Linked DNA regions of Homo sapiens: region 2 is linked to region 1. Evidence: promoter capture Hi-C in human tissues and cell types (Jung and others, 2019). All regions are on one chromosome and are shown on one strand. Each heading gives the region's core, a stretch centred on a gene start or on the middle of the fragment in contact. The rest is flanking DNA. Distances are from core to core; before and after follow the strand shown.

Evidence for each region. Contacts are between HindIII fragments. The study calls those that stand out against the background at their distance.
Region 2: a fragment that was not itself captured here is called in contact with the fragment with the promoter of MTMR12 in region 1 in 1 of the 25 tissues and cell types used here (aorta).

What each region holds. Positions count from the first base shown.
Region 1 is chr5:32,309,708-32,315,799 of GRCh38, forward strand. MTMR12 (myotubularin related protein 12) reads right to left here and starts at 3,232. Exons shown (of 16, transcript NM_001040446.3): 1 at 3,051-3,232. The coding sequence starts at 3,131. It also overlaps the pseudogene RNU6-378P. RefSeq lists silencers at 275-435, 2,561-2,700, 2,771-3,560 and an enhancer at 3,651-3,700. The HindIII fragment of the contact is 13,800 bases long and covers 1-6,092 here.
Region 2 is chr5:33,350,943-33,356,438 of GRCh38, forward strand. No RefSeq gene overlaps it. Among named protein-coding and RNA genes, the nearest start is that of TARS1-DT, 87 kb to the right of the region's middle. The HindIII fragment of the contact is 7,182 bases long and covers 535-5,496 here.

The DNA of each region.
Region 1 (6,092 bases), core at 1,982-4,481:
AAGATTAGCATGGCCCCTGCGCAAGGATGACATGCAAATTCGTGAAGCGTTTCATATTTTTAACAAACCCTTAAATGTTAAAAAAAAAAAGTATGAGATATCATCTCATCCCAGTTAAAATGGCTTATATCCAAAAAAGATAAGCAATAACAAATGCTAGTAAGGATGTGGAGAGAAGGGAACCTTCATACGCTGTTGGTGGGAACGTAAATCAATACAACCACTGTGGAGAACAGTACGGAGGTTCCTCAAAAACTAAAAATAGAGCCACCATATGATCCGGCAAGCCCACTGCTAGGTATACACCCAAAAGAAAGGAAATCAGGGCCAGGCACGGTGGCTTACGCCTACAATCCCAGCACTTTGGGAGGCTGAGGCAGGAGGATTGCTTGAGCCCAGGAGTTTGAGAGCAGCCTGGGCAAAGACAGCAAGACATCACCTCTACTAAAAATTTTAAAATTAGCCAGGTGCTCTGGCATGCACCTGTAGTCCCAGCTACTTGGGAAAATGGCTTGAGTACAGGAGGTGGAGGCTACAGTGAGCTGTGATCACGCCACTGTACTTCAACCTAAGCGACAAAGCAAGATCCTGTCTCTAAAAAAGGAAGAAAGGAAATCAGTACATGGAAGAGAAATCTGCACTCCCATGTTTATTACAACACTATTCACCACAGCCAAGATTTGGAAGCAACCAAAGTGTCCATCATCAACAAATGAATAGATAAAGAAAATGTGGTACATACACACGAGTACTATTCAGCCATAAAAAAGAATAAGATCCTGTCATTTGTAACAATGAACAGAACTGGAGGTCATTATGTTAAGTGAACTACGCCAGGCGCAGAAAGACAAACTTTGCACGTCCTCACTTATTTGTGGGAGCTAAAAATTAAAACATTTGAACTCATGGAGACAGAATGATGGTTACCAAAAGCTGGGAAGGGTAGCAGGGGAAAGGGAAGTGGGGATGTTTAATGGGTACAAAAACACAGTTAGAATAAGATCTAGTAAGTGATAGCACAACAGGGTGACTACAGTCAACAATAATTGTATATTTTATAATAACTTAAAGAGTATAATTGGATAGTGTGTAACACAAAGGAAGGATAAATGCTTGCAGTGATGGATACCCCATTCATGCATTGTATGCCTGTATCCAAAGATTTCTTTCTTTTTTTTTTTTTTGAGATGGAGTCTCGCTCTGTCGCCCAAGCTGTAGTGCAGTGGCGCGATCTCGGCTCACTGCAACCTCTGCCTCCTGGGTTCAAGCGATTCTCCTGCCTCAGCCTCCCAAGTAGCTGGGATTACAGGTGCGCACCACCATGCCTGGCTAATTTTAGGGTTTCACCATGTTGGCCAGGCTGGTCTCCAACTTCTGACCTCAGGTGATCCACCCACCTCAGCCGGCCCAAAGTGCTGGGATTACAGGTGTCAGCCACCATGCCCAGCCCAAATATTTCATGTATCCCATTAAATATATACACCTACTATACCCACAAAAATTTTTTAAATGTTTAAATGTTTTAAAAAGACACAAAGAGAAATTGACCACATTGCTTAAATGTGATACCACAAGGGAAGCCCGCTGAAACTTTAAGATGACCCTGACTCCACATCAAGTGCTAACAGAGGAAATGGTTTGTATTTTACAACTAGGACTAAAAATAAGACCCATTTTAAGAGCACTTTCCCCTGGAGAAAACACACATATCTTGAATTTAAAGATACATATGCAAATGCCTCAGGCCCCAGGTGGTCTTTACGGAAGCAGTCCCTGATCAGATCTCTCATCCACAGCCCACGTGCTTCTGCATTACAGAGGTGGGAAGACATCTGCAACAAATTTGGCGGTGCTTCTGCACTTCTGCTGGAGAGAAGGGCAGAAAAAAACCTTTACAGATGCAAAACAAGAAGGCTTCTCATTAGGCATTTGGATTAAGAACTATTGCTCAAGAAGCCCTGAGCAAGGCCTACAAGTTCTGATCTCTCTAACCTCCTCTCCTATGACTGTCCCCCTTGTCCATGGGCCTCTGCCATGCTGGCTTCCTTGACGCTCCGCCAACCCTTCAGACACACTCCCACCTCACGACCTTCCCGGGGGCTGTTCCCTCTACCTGGACGACTCTTCTCTCAGACCTCTCGTATCTTCAAGTCTCGGCTCAAATGCCACCTTTGCGAGGAGGAAAAAGATTTCTTTTCTTTCCCATGATATTTATCACCTCCTACTACACCGTATAATTTACTTAATTATCTATAATTCACCCCGTTTCTCCTTTCCCCCTCAAATAAGCTCCAGGAATGCAGAGATCTCTGTCCTGTTCACTGATGTCTATCACAAGCACTTAGTGCCTGACACACAGTAGGAGCTCGAGAAGTATTTTCTGAATGAATGAACAAATTTCTTGACCTGAAGATTCAGAAGAGTAAGAAGTGGGTGGAAAGGATGATGGTGAGGGGATGAGGAGAAAGAAGCGACAGCGGAGAATTCCCAAGGGAGAGACAAGCAGAGACTGGCTGAGGCCAGGCCGACCCCCTTTTCTCCCCGCAGCGCTGACGGGAGGCGGACGTAGGTGCAGGGCATCCCGCCAGCCGCACCCGAGGCACTCAGACGCAGGCAGCGGAGGCCGGCGGGCTTCTGGGCTCACTGAGAAAGTCCAGAGGCAGGACGGACCCACGCGGGCTCCGAGCAGGCCCCGTTGGGGGCTCCGACCCACGGCCCTACCCCTCCCAGCAGTGCCCACAACCCCAGGTCCTCTCCAGAATCCCCAGGGGCGTTCCGGGCCGCAATCCCTTCTCGGCTCGGGCCCCTCCACCAGCCTCCAGCGCTCGGGCCCTGCGCTCAGGCACCTGCCTGCCTGCGCCGGGGTCCCCATTCCGGCCCGCGCGGAGGCCCCAGCGCGCTCCTGCGGCCTCAGCCCGCCTGGCTGCCCCGTCGCCCGGCACAAGGGCAGGAAGCGCTCCGCGGCGCTCCCCGCTGCAAGGAAGGGGCTCCCGGCGCCCCTCGCCCCGGCCGCCCCTGCCCGACGCCCCGCCTGCGCGGCGCCCCCTCACCTCAGGGCGTACGTACGACACGAAGGAGGGCTTGGGGGCCTTGGTGCCGCCGCCACCGCCGACTACTCCTTTCCCCAGCATACCGCCGCCCTGGGAAGCAGCGACGCGCGGACGCAGAGGCGGCGGCTCGGGCTCCAGCTGGGGCAGCAGCGGCGGCCACCAGCACTAGCGGCTGGGGCTCCGCCCATCCCCAAGGCCGCGACCGCCGCGATGCCGCCCGCATCCGGCTCCGCCGCTGACACCGCTCGCCCCGCCCAGGCCCGTGGGCCCCGCCCATCCCGTGCGCGGGCCCAGAGAGCCGGGAGACCGCAACTGGAGGCCACGCCCCCCCATCACGTCAGGAGAGTTTGACCCGCCGAGATTCACCACCTTCCTGCGGCAGAGCCCGCCCTCATGCTTTCTCTGATTGGCCCGAGGCGCTGCCGGCCGAACCCCGCTCCCAACCCATTCTTGAGTGCACTTGGAGAGATGTTTCCTCCAACCAATCCAGAGAGCGTTCTCTCCGGACTTTCCAACGATTGGATGGCGAGGATAAAACCGTCGTCCAATGATCCTGCAGTCACCAAGTTGTCGTTAGCAGGGGTTCACGGCAGTCGTTTTCTTCCGTTTGCTTGTGTCTTTGGAATAAAACGTCCAAAAATGGGATGTATGGAATCTTGCTATAGGAGTTCCCAACTTACAGCGATGACGTTCAAGGTTTTTTATTTTATTATTATTTACTTTTGAGACGGAGTTTTGCTCTTGTCGCCCAGGCTGGAGTGCAATGGCGCGATCTCTGCTCATTGCAACCTCCGTCTCCCAGGTTCAAGCGATTCTCTTGCCTCAGCCTCCTGAGTAGCTGGGATTACAGGCGCCCGCCACTATATCCAGCTAATTTTGTGTGTGTGTGTGTGTGTGTGTGTGTGTGTCGTTCTGTCGCCCAGGCTTGAGTGCAATGGCGTAGTATAGGCTCACTGCAACCTCTGCCTCCCAGGTTCAAGCGATTCTCCTGCCTCAGCCTCCCGAGTAGCTGGGATTATAGGCGCCTGCCATCACACCCGGCTAATTTTTGTATTTTTAGTAGAGACGGGGTTTCACCATGTTGGCCAGGCTAGTCTCAAACCCCTAACCTCGTGATCCGCCCGCCTCAGCCTCCCAAAGTGTTGGGATTAGAGGCATGAGCCACCGCGCCATGCCGCTAATTTTTGTATTTTTAATGGAGACGGGGGTTTCACCATGTTGGCCAGGCTGGTCTCAAACTCCTGACTTCAGATGATCCACCCGCTTCGGCCTCCCGAAGTGCTGGGATTACAGGCGTGAGCCACCGCGCCCGACCTCAAGGTTTATTATTTTAAATGTAAACAAAAATGAGACAAACGATGACTCACGCCTCTAATCCCAGCACTTTGGGAGGCCGAGGCGGGTGGATCATCTGAAGTCAGGAGTTTGAGACCAGCCTGGCCAACATGGAGAAACCCTATCTCTACTAAAAATACAAAAATTAGCCTGGTGTGGTGGCGGGCGCCTGTAATCCCAGCTACTCGGGAGGCTGAGGCACGAGAATCGCTTGAACCAAGGTTGCAGTGAGCCAGGATCGCGCCACTGCACTCCAGCCTGGGTGGCAGAGCAAGACTGTGTCTCAAACAGAAAAAAAAAAGTGTCAAATCAAGTGTTAACAAGGCAGTGAGGAATAAGTTTGAGCGTTTGATAATAAAAGACTTTGTCAACTTCATTTTTCCAAACCTTTCCCTTCTTTGTGTTTCCAACAGGAAGAATATCAAGAGCCCTTAAGAGACTTCTATTTACTCTACGAAGTTATTGATAAAACCCTCATTTTTTAGTCAAGATTGCAAAGAAAATTCATTTCAGTTCTACATTTGGTGCCAAGCGTTGTTAGTTGCAGATAAATAAGATAGAATCCAGCTCTTAAGAAATTCAATCTAGTGGAAAAAAACATAAATATTTGCAGTTAATTTTTTAGGCGTCAGGCACTGTGCTAAGTACTCTCATTGGTGACCTTGATTTTTACCCTCTTAATCTCCATGTGCTCCCCCTTCCCAAATACACTCCAAGTAAATATAAAATCTTAGTGAAAACAAATGTGCTTGCTTTTGCAAACATAGTTTCAACGCAAGTCCTGCAGCTCCGTTTCCAGCTAGATTGCCACCTGTAAGCCAATATTTGGTATAGCTGTGCTGCAGCCGCCTCTGAGTTTCCTTATCCCAGTTTCCAGGTGACAAAACAGAGATGCAAGTAATTTGCCCAGGTCTCACAACTAGTCACTGAGAGAGCTGGGATTTCAACCCGGGTTTGTCTCATTCGAAATCCCAAGTTCTTAACATTATAATTATACAAATTAGAAAGGAGCACAATGAAAGTGTGGTCAATTCTATTTGGGGAGTCCAAGTTGAGGCCATCCTTACAAGGTTGAGAAGAATTCTGCACAAAAATAGAGTTATAACTAAGCATTAATCAGGCTGCAGTTCGGCCTGCTTCTTTGTATTAATAACTTCAGGTAACACTAGGTACTGACCATTTGCATCCCTGTTGTTTCAATAGGTAGGATTTCTGGCTCTGGAATCATAAGGGTTTTATTTAAGAATTGCTTAGGCAGATCCTACGTTCCAGCAGAACAGCCGACATCAACCAGTTTAAAGACCGCCCCCGCCCCAACACACACACACACACACACACACACACACCCACACACACACAGGAACCGAATCAGTGCGAGAATACAATTTCTTCATCTCTCTGTCTCATGACTTTACCCTGCACTTTTCAACCAATTGATGATCTCCACACTTTGGTCCACTTCAAAACCCTTAAATACCCTAGCCCCAGGCAGGGTGCAGTAGCTCACACCTGTAATCCCAGCACTTTTAAAGGCCAAAGTAGGAGGCTCACTTGAGTTCAGGAGTTCAAGACCAGCCCAGACAATATAGTGAGGCCCTGTCTCTATGAAACATTAAAAAATTAGTCAGGCATGGTGGTGCAAGCCTGTAGTACAAGGTACTCAGGAGGTTGAGGTGGAAAGATTGTTTGAGCCCAGGAGTTTGAGGT
Region 2 (5,496 bases), core at 2,876-5,375, 1.0 Mb after region 1:
TATCCGTAGAGTTGTTTATAGTATTCTCTGATGGTAATTTGTATTTTTGTGGGATCGGTGGTGATATCCCCTTTATCATTTTTATTGCATCTATTTGATTGTTCTCTCTTTTCTTCTTTATTAGTCTTACTAGCAGTCTATCAATTTTGTTGATCTTTTCAAAAAACCAGCTCCTGGATTCATTGATTTTTTTAAGGGTTTTTTGTCTCTATTTCCTTCAGTTCTGCTCTGATCTTAGTTATTTCTTGCCTTCTGCTAGCTTTTGAATGTGTTTGCTCTTGCTTCTGTAGTTCTTTTAATTGTGATGTTAGGGTGTCAATTTTTTATCTTTCCTGCTTTCTCTTGTGGCCATTTAGTGCTATAAATTTCCCTCTACACACTGCTTTAAATGTGTCCCAGAGATTCTGGTATGTTGTGTCTTTGTTCTCATTGGTTTCAAAGAACATCTTTATTTCTGCCTTCATTTCATTATGTACCCAGTAGTCATTCAGAAGCAAGTTGTTCAGTTTCCATGTAGTTGTGCAGTTTTGAGTGAGTTTCTTAATCCTGAGTTCTAATTTGATTGCACTGTGGTCTGAGAGACAGTTTGTTATAATTTCTGTTTTTTTACATTTGCTGAGGAGAGCTTTACTTCCAACTATGTGGTCAATTTTGGAATAAGTGCAATGTGGTGCTGAGAAGAATGTATCCTCTGTTGATTTGGGGTGGAGAGTTCTGTAGATGTCTATTAGCTCTGCTTGGTGCAGAGCTGAGTTCAAGTCCTGGATATGCTTTTTAACTTTCTATCTCATTGATCCATCTAATGTTGACAGTGGGGTGTTAAATTCTCCCATTATTATTGTGTGGGAGTCTGAGTCTCTTTGTAGGTCTTTAAGGACTTGCTTTATGAATCTGGGTGCTCCTGTATTGGGTGCATATATATTTAGGATAGTTAGCTCTTCTTGTTGAATTGATCCCTTTACCATTATGTAATGGCCTTCTTTGTCTCTTTTGATCTTTGTTGGTTTAAAGTCTGTTTTATCAGAGACTAGGATTGCAACCCTTGCTTTTTTTATTTTTCCATTCGCTTAGTAGATCTTCCTCCATCCCTTTATTTTGAGCCTATGTGTGTCCCTGCTCATGGGATGGGTCTCCTGAATACAGCACACTGATGAGTCTTGACTCTTTAGCCAATTTGCCAGTCTGTGTCTTTTAATTGGAGCATTTAGCCCATTTACATTGAAGGTTAGTATTGTTATGTGTGAATTTGATCCTGTCATTAAGATGTTAGCACGTTATTTTGCTCGTTAGTTTGTGCAGTTTCTTCCTAGCATCAATGGTCTTTACAATTCGGCATGTTTTTGCAATGGCTGGTACCAGTTGTTTCTTTCCATGTTTAGTGCTTCCTTCAGAGCTCTTGTAAGGCAGGCCTGGTGGTGACAAAATCTCTCTGCATTTGCTTGTCTGTAAAGTATTTTATTTCTCCTTCACTTATGAAGCTTAGTTTGGCTAGATATGAGATCCTGGGTTGAAAATTCTTTTCCTTAAGAATGTCGAATATTGGCCCCCACTCTCTTCTGGCTTGTAGAGTTTCTGCTGAGAGATTCGCTGTTAGTCTGATGGGCTTCCTTTTGTGGGTAACTCGGCCTTTGTCTCTGGCTGCCCTTAACACTTTTTCCTTCATTTCAACCTTGGTCAATCTGATAATTACGTGTCTTGAGGCTGCTCTTCTTGAGGAGTATCTTTGTGGTGTTCTCTGTATTTCCTGAATTTGAATGTTGGCCTGCCTTGCGAGGTTGGGGAAGTTCTCCCGGATAATATCCTGAAGAGTGGTTTCCAACTTGATTCCATTCTCCCCATCACTTTCAGGTACACCAGTCAGATGTAGATTTGGTCTTTTCACATAGTCCCATAATTCTTGGAGGATTTGTTCATTTCTTTCTACTCCTTTTTCTCTAAACTTCTCCTCTCGCTTCATTTCATTCATTTGATCTTCAATCACTGATACCCTTTCTTCCACTTGATCAAATCAGCTACTGAAGCTTGTGCAGGCGTCACGTAGTTCTCGTGCCATGGTTTTCAGCTCCATCAGGTCATTTAAGGTCTTCTCTATGCTGTTTATTCTAGTTAGCCATTCGTCTCATCTTTTTTCAAGGTTTTAACTTCTGTGGGATGGGTTCGAACATCCTCCTTTAGCTCGGAGAACTTTGTTATTACTGATCTTCTGAGGCCTACTTCTGTCAACGTGTCAAAGTCACTCTCTGTCCAGCTTTGTTCCATTGCTATCAAGGAGCTGCATTCCTTTGGAGGAGAAGAGGGGCTCTGATTTTTGAAATTTTCAGCTTTTCTGCTCTGGTTTCTCCCCACCTTTGTGGTTTTATCTACCTTTGGTCTTTGATAATGGTGACCTAGAGATGGGGTTTTGGTGTGGATGTCCTTCAAGTTTGTTAATTTTCCTTCTAATAGTCAGGACCCTCAGCTGCAGGTCTGTTGGAGCTTGCTGGAGGTGCACTCCAGACCCTGTTTGCCTGGGTATCACCAGTGGACGCAGCAAAACAGCAAATATTGCAGAACAGCAAATGTTGCCGCCTGATCCTCTGGAAGCTTCATCTCAGAGGGGCACCTGGCTGTATGAGGTGTCAGTTGGCCCCTACAGGGAGGTGTCTCCCAGTTAGGCTACTCGGGGGTCAGGGACACACTTGAGGTGGCAGTCTGTCCATTCTCTTATCTCAAACTCCATGCTGGGAGAACCGCTACTCTCTTCAAAGCTGTCAGACAGGGATGTTTAAGTCTGCAGAAGTTTCTGCTGCCTTTTGTTCAGCTATGCCCTGCCCCCAGAGGTGGAGTCTACAGAGGCAGGCAGGCCTCCTTGAGCTGTGGTGGGCTACACCCAGTTTGAGCTTCTCAGCCACTTTGTTTACCCACTCAAACCTCAGCAATGGCAGACGCCCCTCTCCTAGCCTTGCTGCCCCCTTGCAGTTTGACCTCTTACTGCTATGCTAGCAGTGAGCAAGGCTCCATGGGCATTGAACCCTCTGAGCCAGGTGCGGGATATAATCTCCTGGTGTGCCATTTGCTAAGACCATTGGAAAATCGCAGTATGAGGGTGGGCGTGCCCTGATTTTCCAGGTACCATCTGCCACGGCTTCCCTTGGCTAGGAAAGGGAATTTGCTGACCCCTTGCACTTCCCAGGTGAGGTGATGCCCTGCCCTGCTTTGGCTCACATTCCATGGGCTGCACCCACTGTCCAACAAGCCCCAGTGAGATGAACCCAGTACCTCAGTTGGAAATGCAGAAATCACCCGTCTTCTGCATTGCTCACGCTGGGATCTGTAGACTGGAGCTCTTCCTATTTGGCTGTCTTTGTACCCTCCCCCATGATTTGTGTTATATTCAAGTTAGAGACTGATGCAGATACAAGACCCTAGAGAGGTTTTTTTGTTTTGTTTTCCCTTCTGCCACTTTGACTGGTAATGTTCCAGATGGTGGCTGCTTTGTCAACCTTGGTCCCAGAGTAGGGACAATAGTGTAGTGCAACAAAATCCTCTGCTGGGTCACAGTGGACATGAGTGGGATCAAGGAACATGGCTTTGTTGTTTCAAGCCATTCAGATTTTGGTATGGCTTGTTACTACAGCCTGACCTAGCATGGTGAATAGAAGCACTTAAGTTTGTACATAGCAGCTGACTCACCTGGTACCAGATGCTAGTTTCAGCAGTTCATCCCTCTTACATAATTTGAAAGCTGAAAGACAGAGCTCCTCCCTCACTCAATATTGTTAGGAAATAATTCAGAACTGTTGCTATTTCCTTATCTGTGAAATTTGCCATTATTGCCACTATACATACACACACACACACACACACACACACACACACACACACACCATTCTCGGTTATTTTTTCCCTTCAAAAACAGAATTCTGCCCAGGGGCTGGTTTTAAAGTCCAAGGTTTCTTCACTTCTGCCCTGGTACAGTGACTCCCAAGATAGATGCATGTAATTCTTGTCCAAAGGACTACATTACAGCATCATGCAGACATCCAGATACTCAGTTGAATCACATGTGTCATGTTCTTTTGTTCACAAAATGCCATCACCACACAAAAGAATCCTGTGTTGTTTTCTCTGGTGGGTGGTTAGGGTGGGAATACATTATTGAAAAAGGTAGGGAAATGTTCAAATAAAAATTACAGACGGAATTTCTGATATGTAGCAGAAGGAATTTGACCTTTAACCAAATGGTTAGGTCCAAGAAGATACTGGAATAGTAATTTAATTTTAGAAACTCTATCAGGAACCACAAGACAAACTACCTCAGCTCATACCAATCAATTATTTATCCAAGTAGTGATTGTAAGACACAGTATGTCACTTAATCGCCACTGACTCTTTTTTCATAATTTCATGTGTTTTCTCTCGTTTACCTAAGAAGGCTATAAATAACTAAAGGCAAAAATATCTTATATTTCAGTTAAACCAAATACATCTCCTGGCAACACTGAGACTACAGAGTGCTCAATCAATAATATCTTTTTAACACATTTTTTTTCTTTTTCTTTTTTTTTTTTTTTTTTTTGAGACGGAGTCTCGCTCTGTCGCCCAGGCCGGACTGCGGACTGCAGTGGCGCAATCTCGGCTCACTGCAAGCTCCGCCTCCCGGGTTCACGCCATTCTCCTGCCTCAGCCTCCCGAGTAGCTGGGACTACAGGCGCCCGCCACCGCGCCCGGCTAATTTTTTGTATTTTTAGTAGAGACGGGGTTTCACCTTGTTAGCCAGGATGGTCTCGATCTCCTGACCTCATGATCCACCCGCCTCGGCCTCCCAAAGTGCTGGGATTACAGGCGTGAGCCACCGCGCCCGGCCTTAACACATTTTAATGATACTTTTGACACCACCAATTAATTTAAAACATAATTTGCTAATAACAAAACCTAAATTAAGGATAAAGTTTACATTTAGACAGCAAAAACTAATTTTAATAAGAAAGCCCTAAAGATGATTTTATTGTTTTCTTTGTAATTTTTTCATAGTAGCTGTAAATACCCTTGCTTTGTATTTTTTATTAGCTATAATTCAGTTTAAAATCCCTTTATGAAGTCATCCATGACTGTCATATATTTAATTGCATGGTTAATTTTCCATTATTAGGAAAAATGAAAGTTGTGATATATTCAAAATGTTTACATATGTCCAGAGAATATTCAAGAATACATCCACTGAACCTTTTGATGTCATCAGAATTATAGTATGTGGCATCTCTTACAGCTATAATAGTAGAATGAATACAACAGAGATGTTATTTTCTCTTTGTAGACCAAGTAACATCAGTGCTCCTATTTTCATTTTCTCAAATATCTAGCTAGAACTCATTTCAAGAAATGTCAAAATATAAAAGCCAAAACTTATAAAACAAGTAATTAAAAGGTTATAATTTACTTGAGGAAAAAAGGAATATTTCTTTGCATGGTGAGCCCCTCTAAAGAATTTTAAATAATTTGATATATTAAAAATCA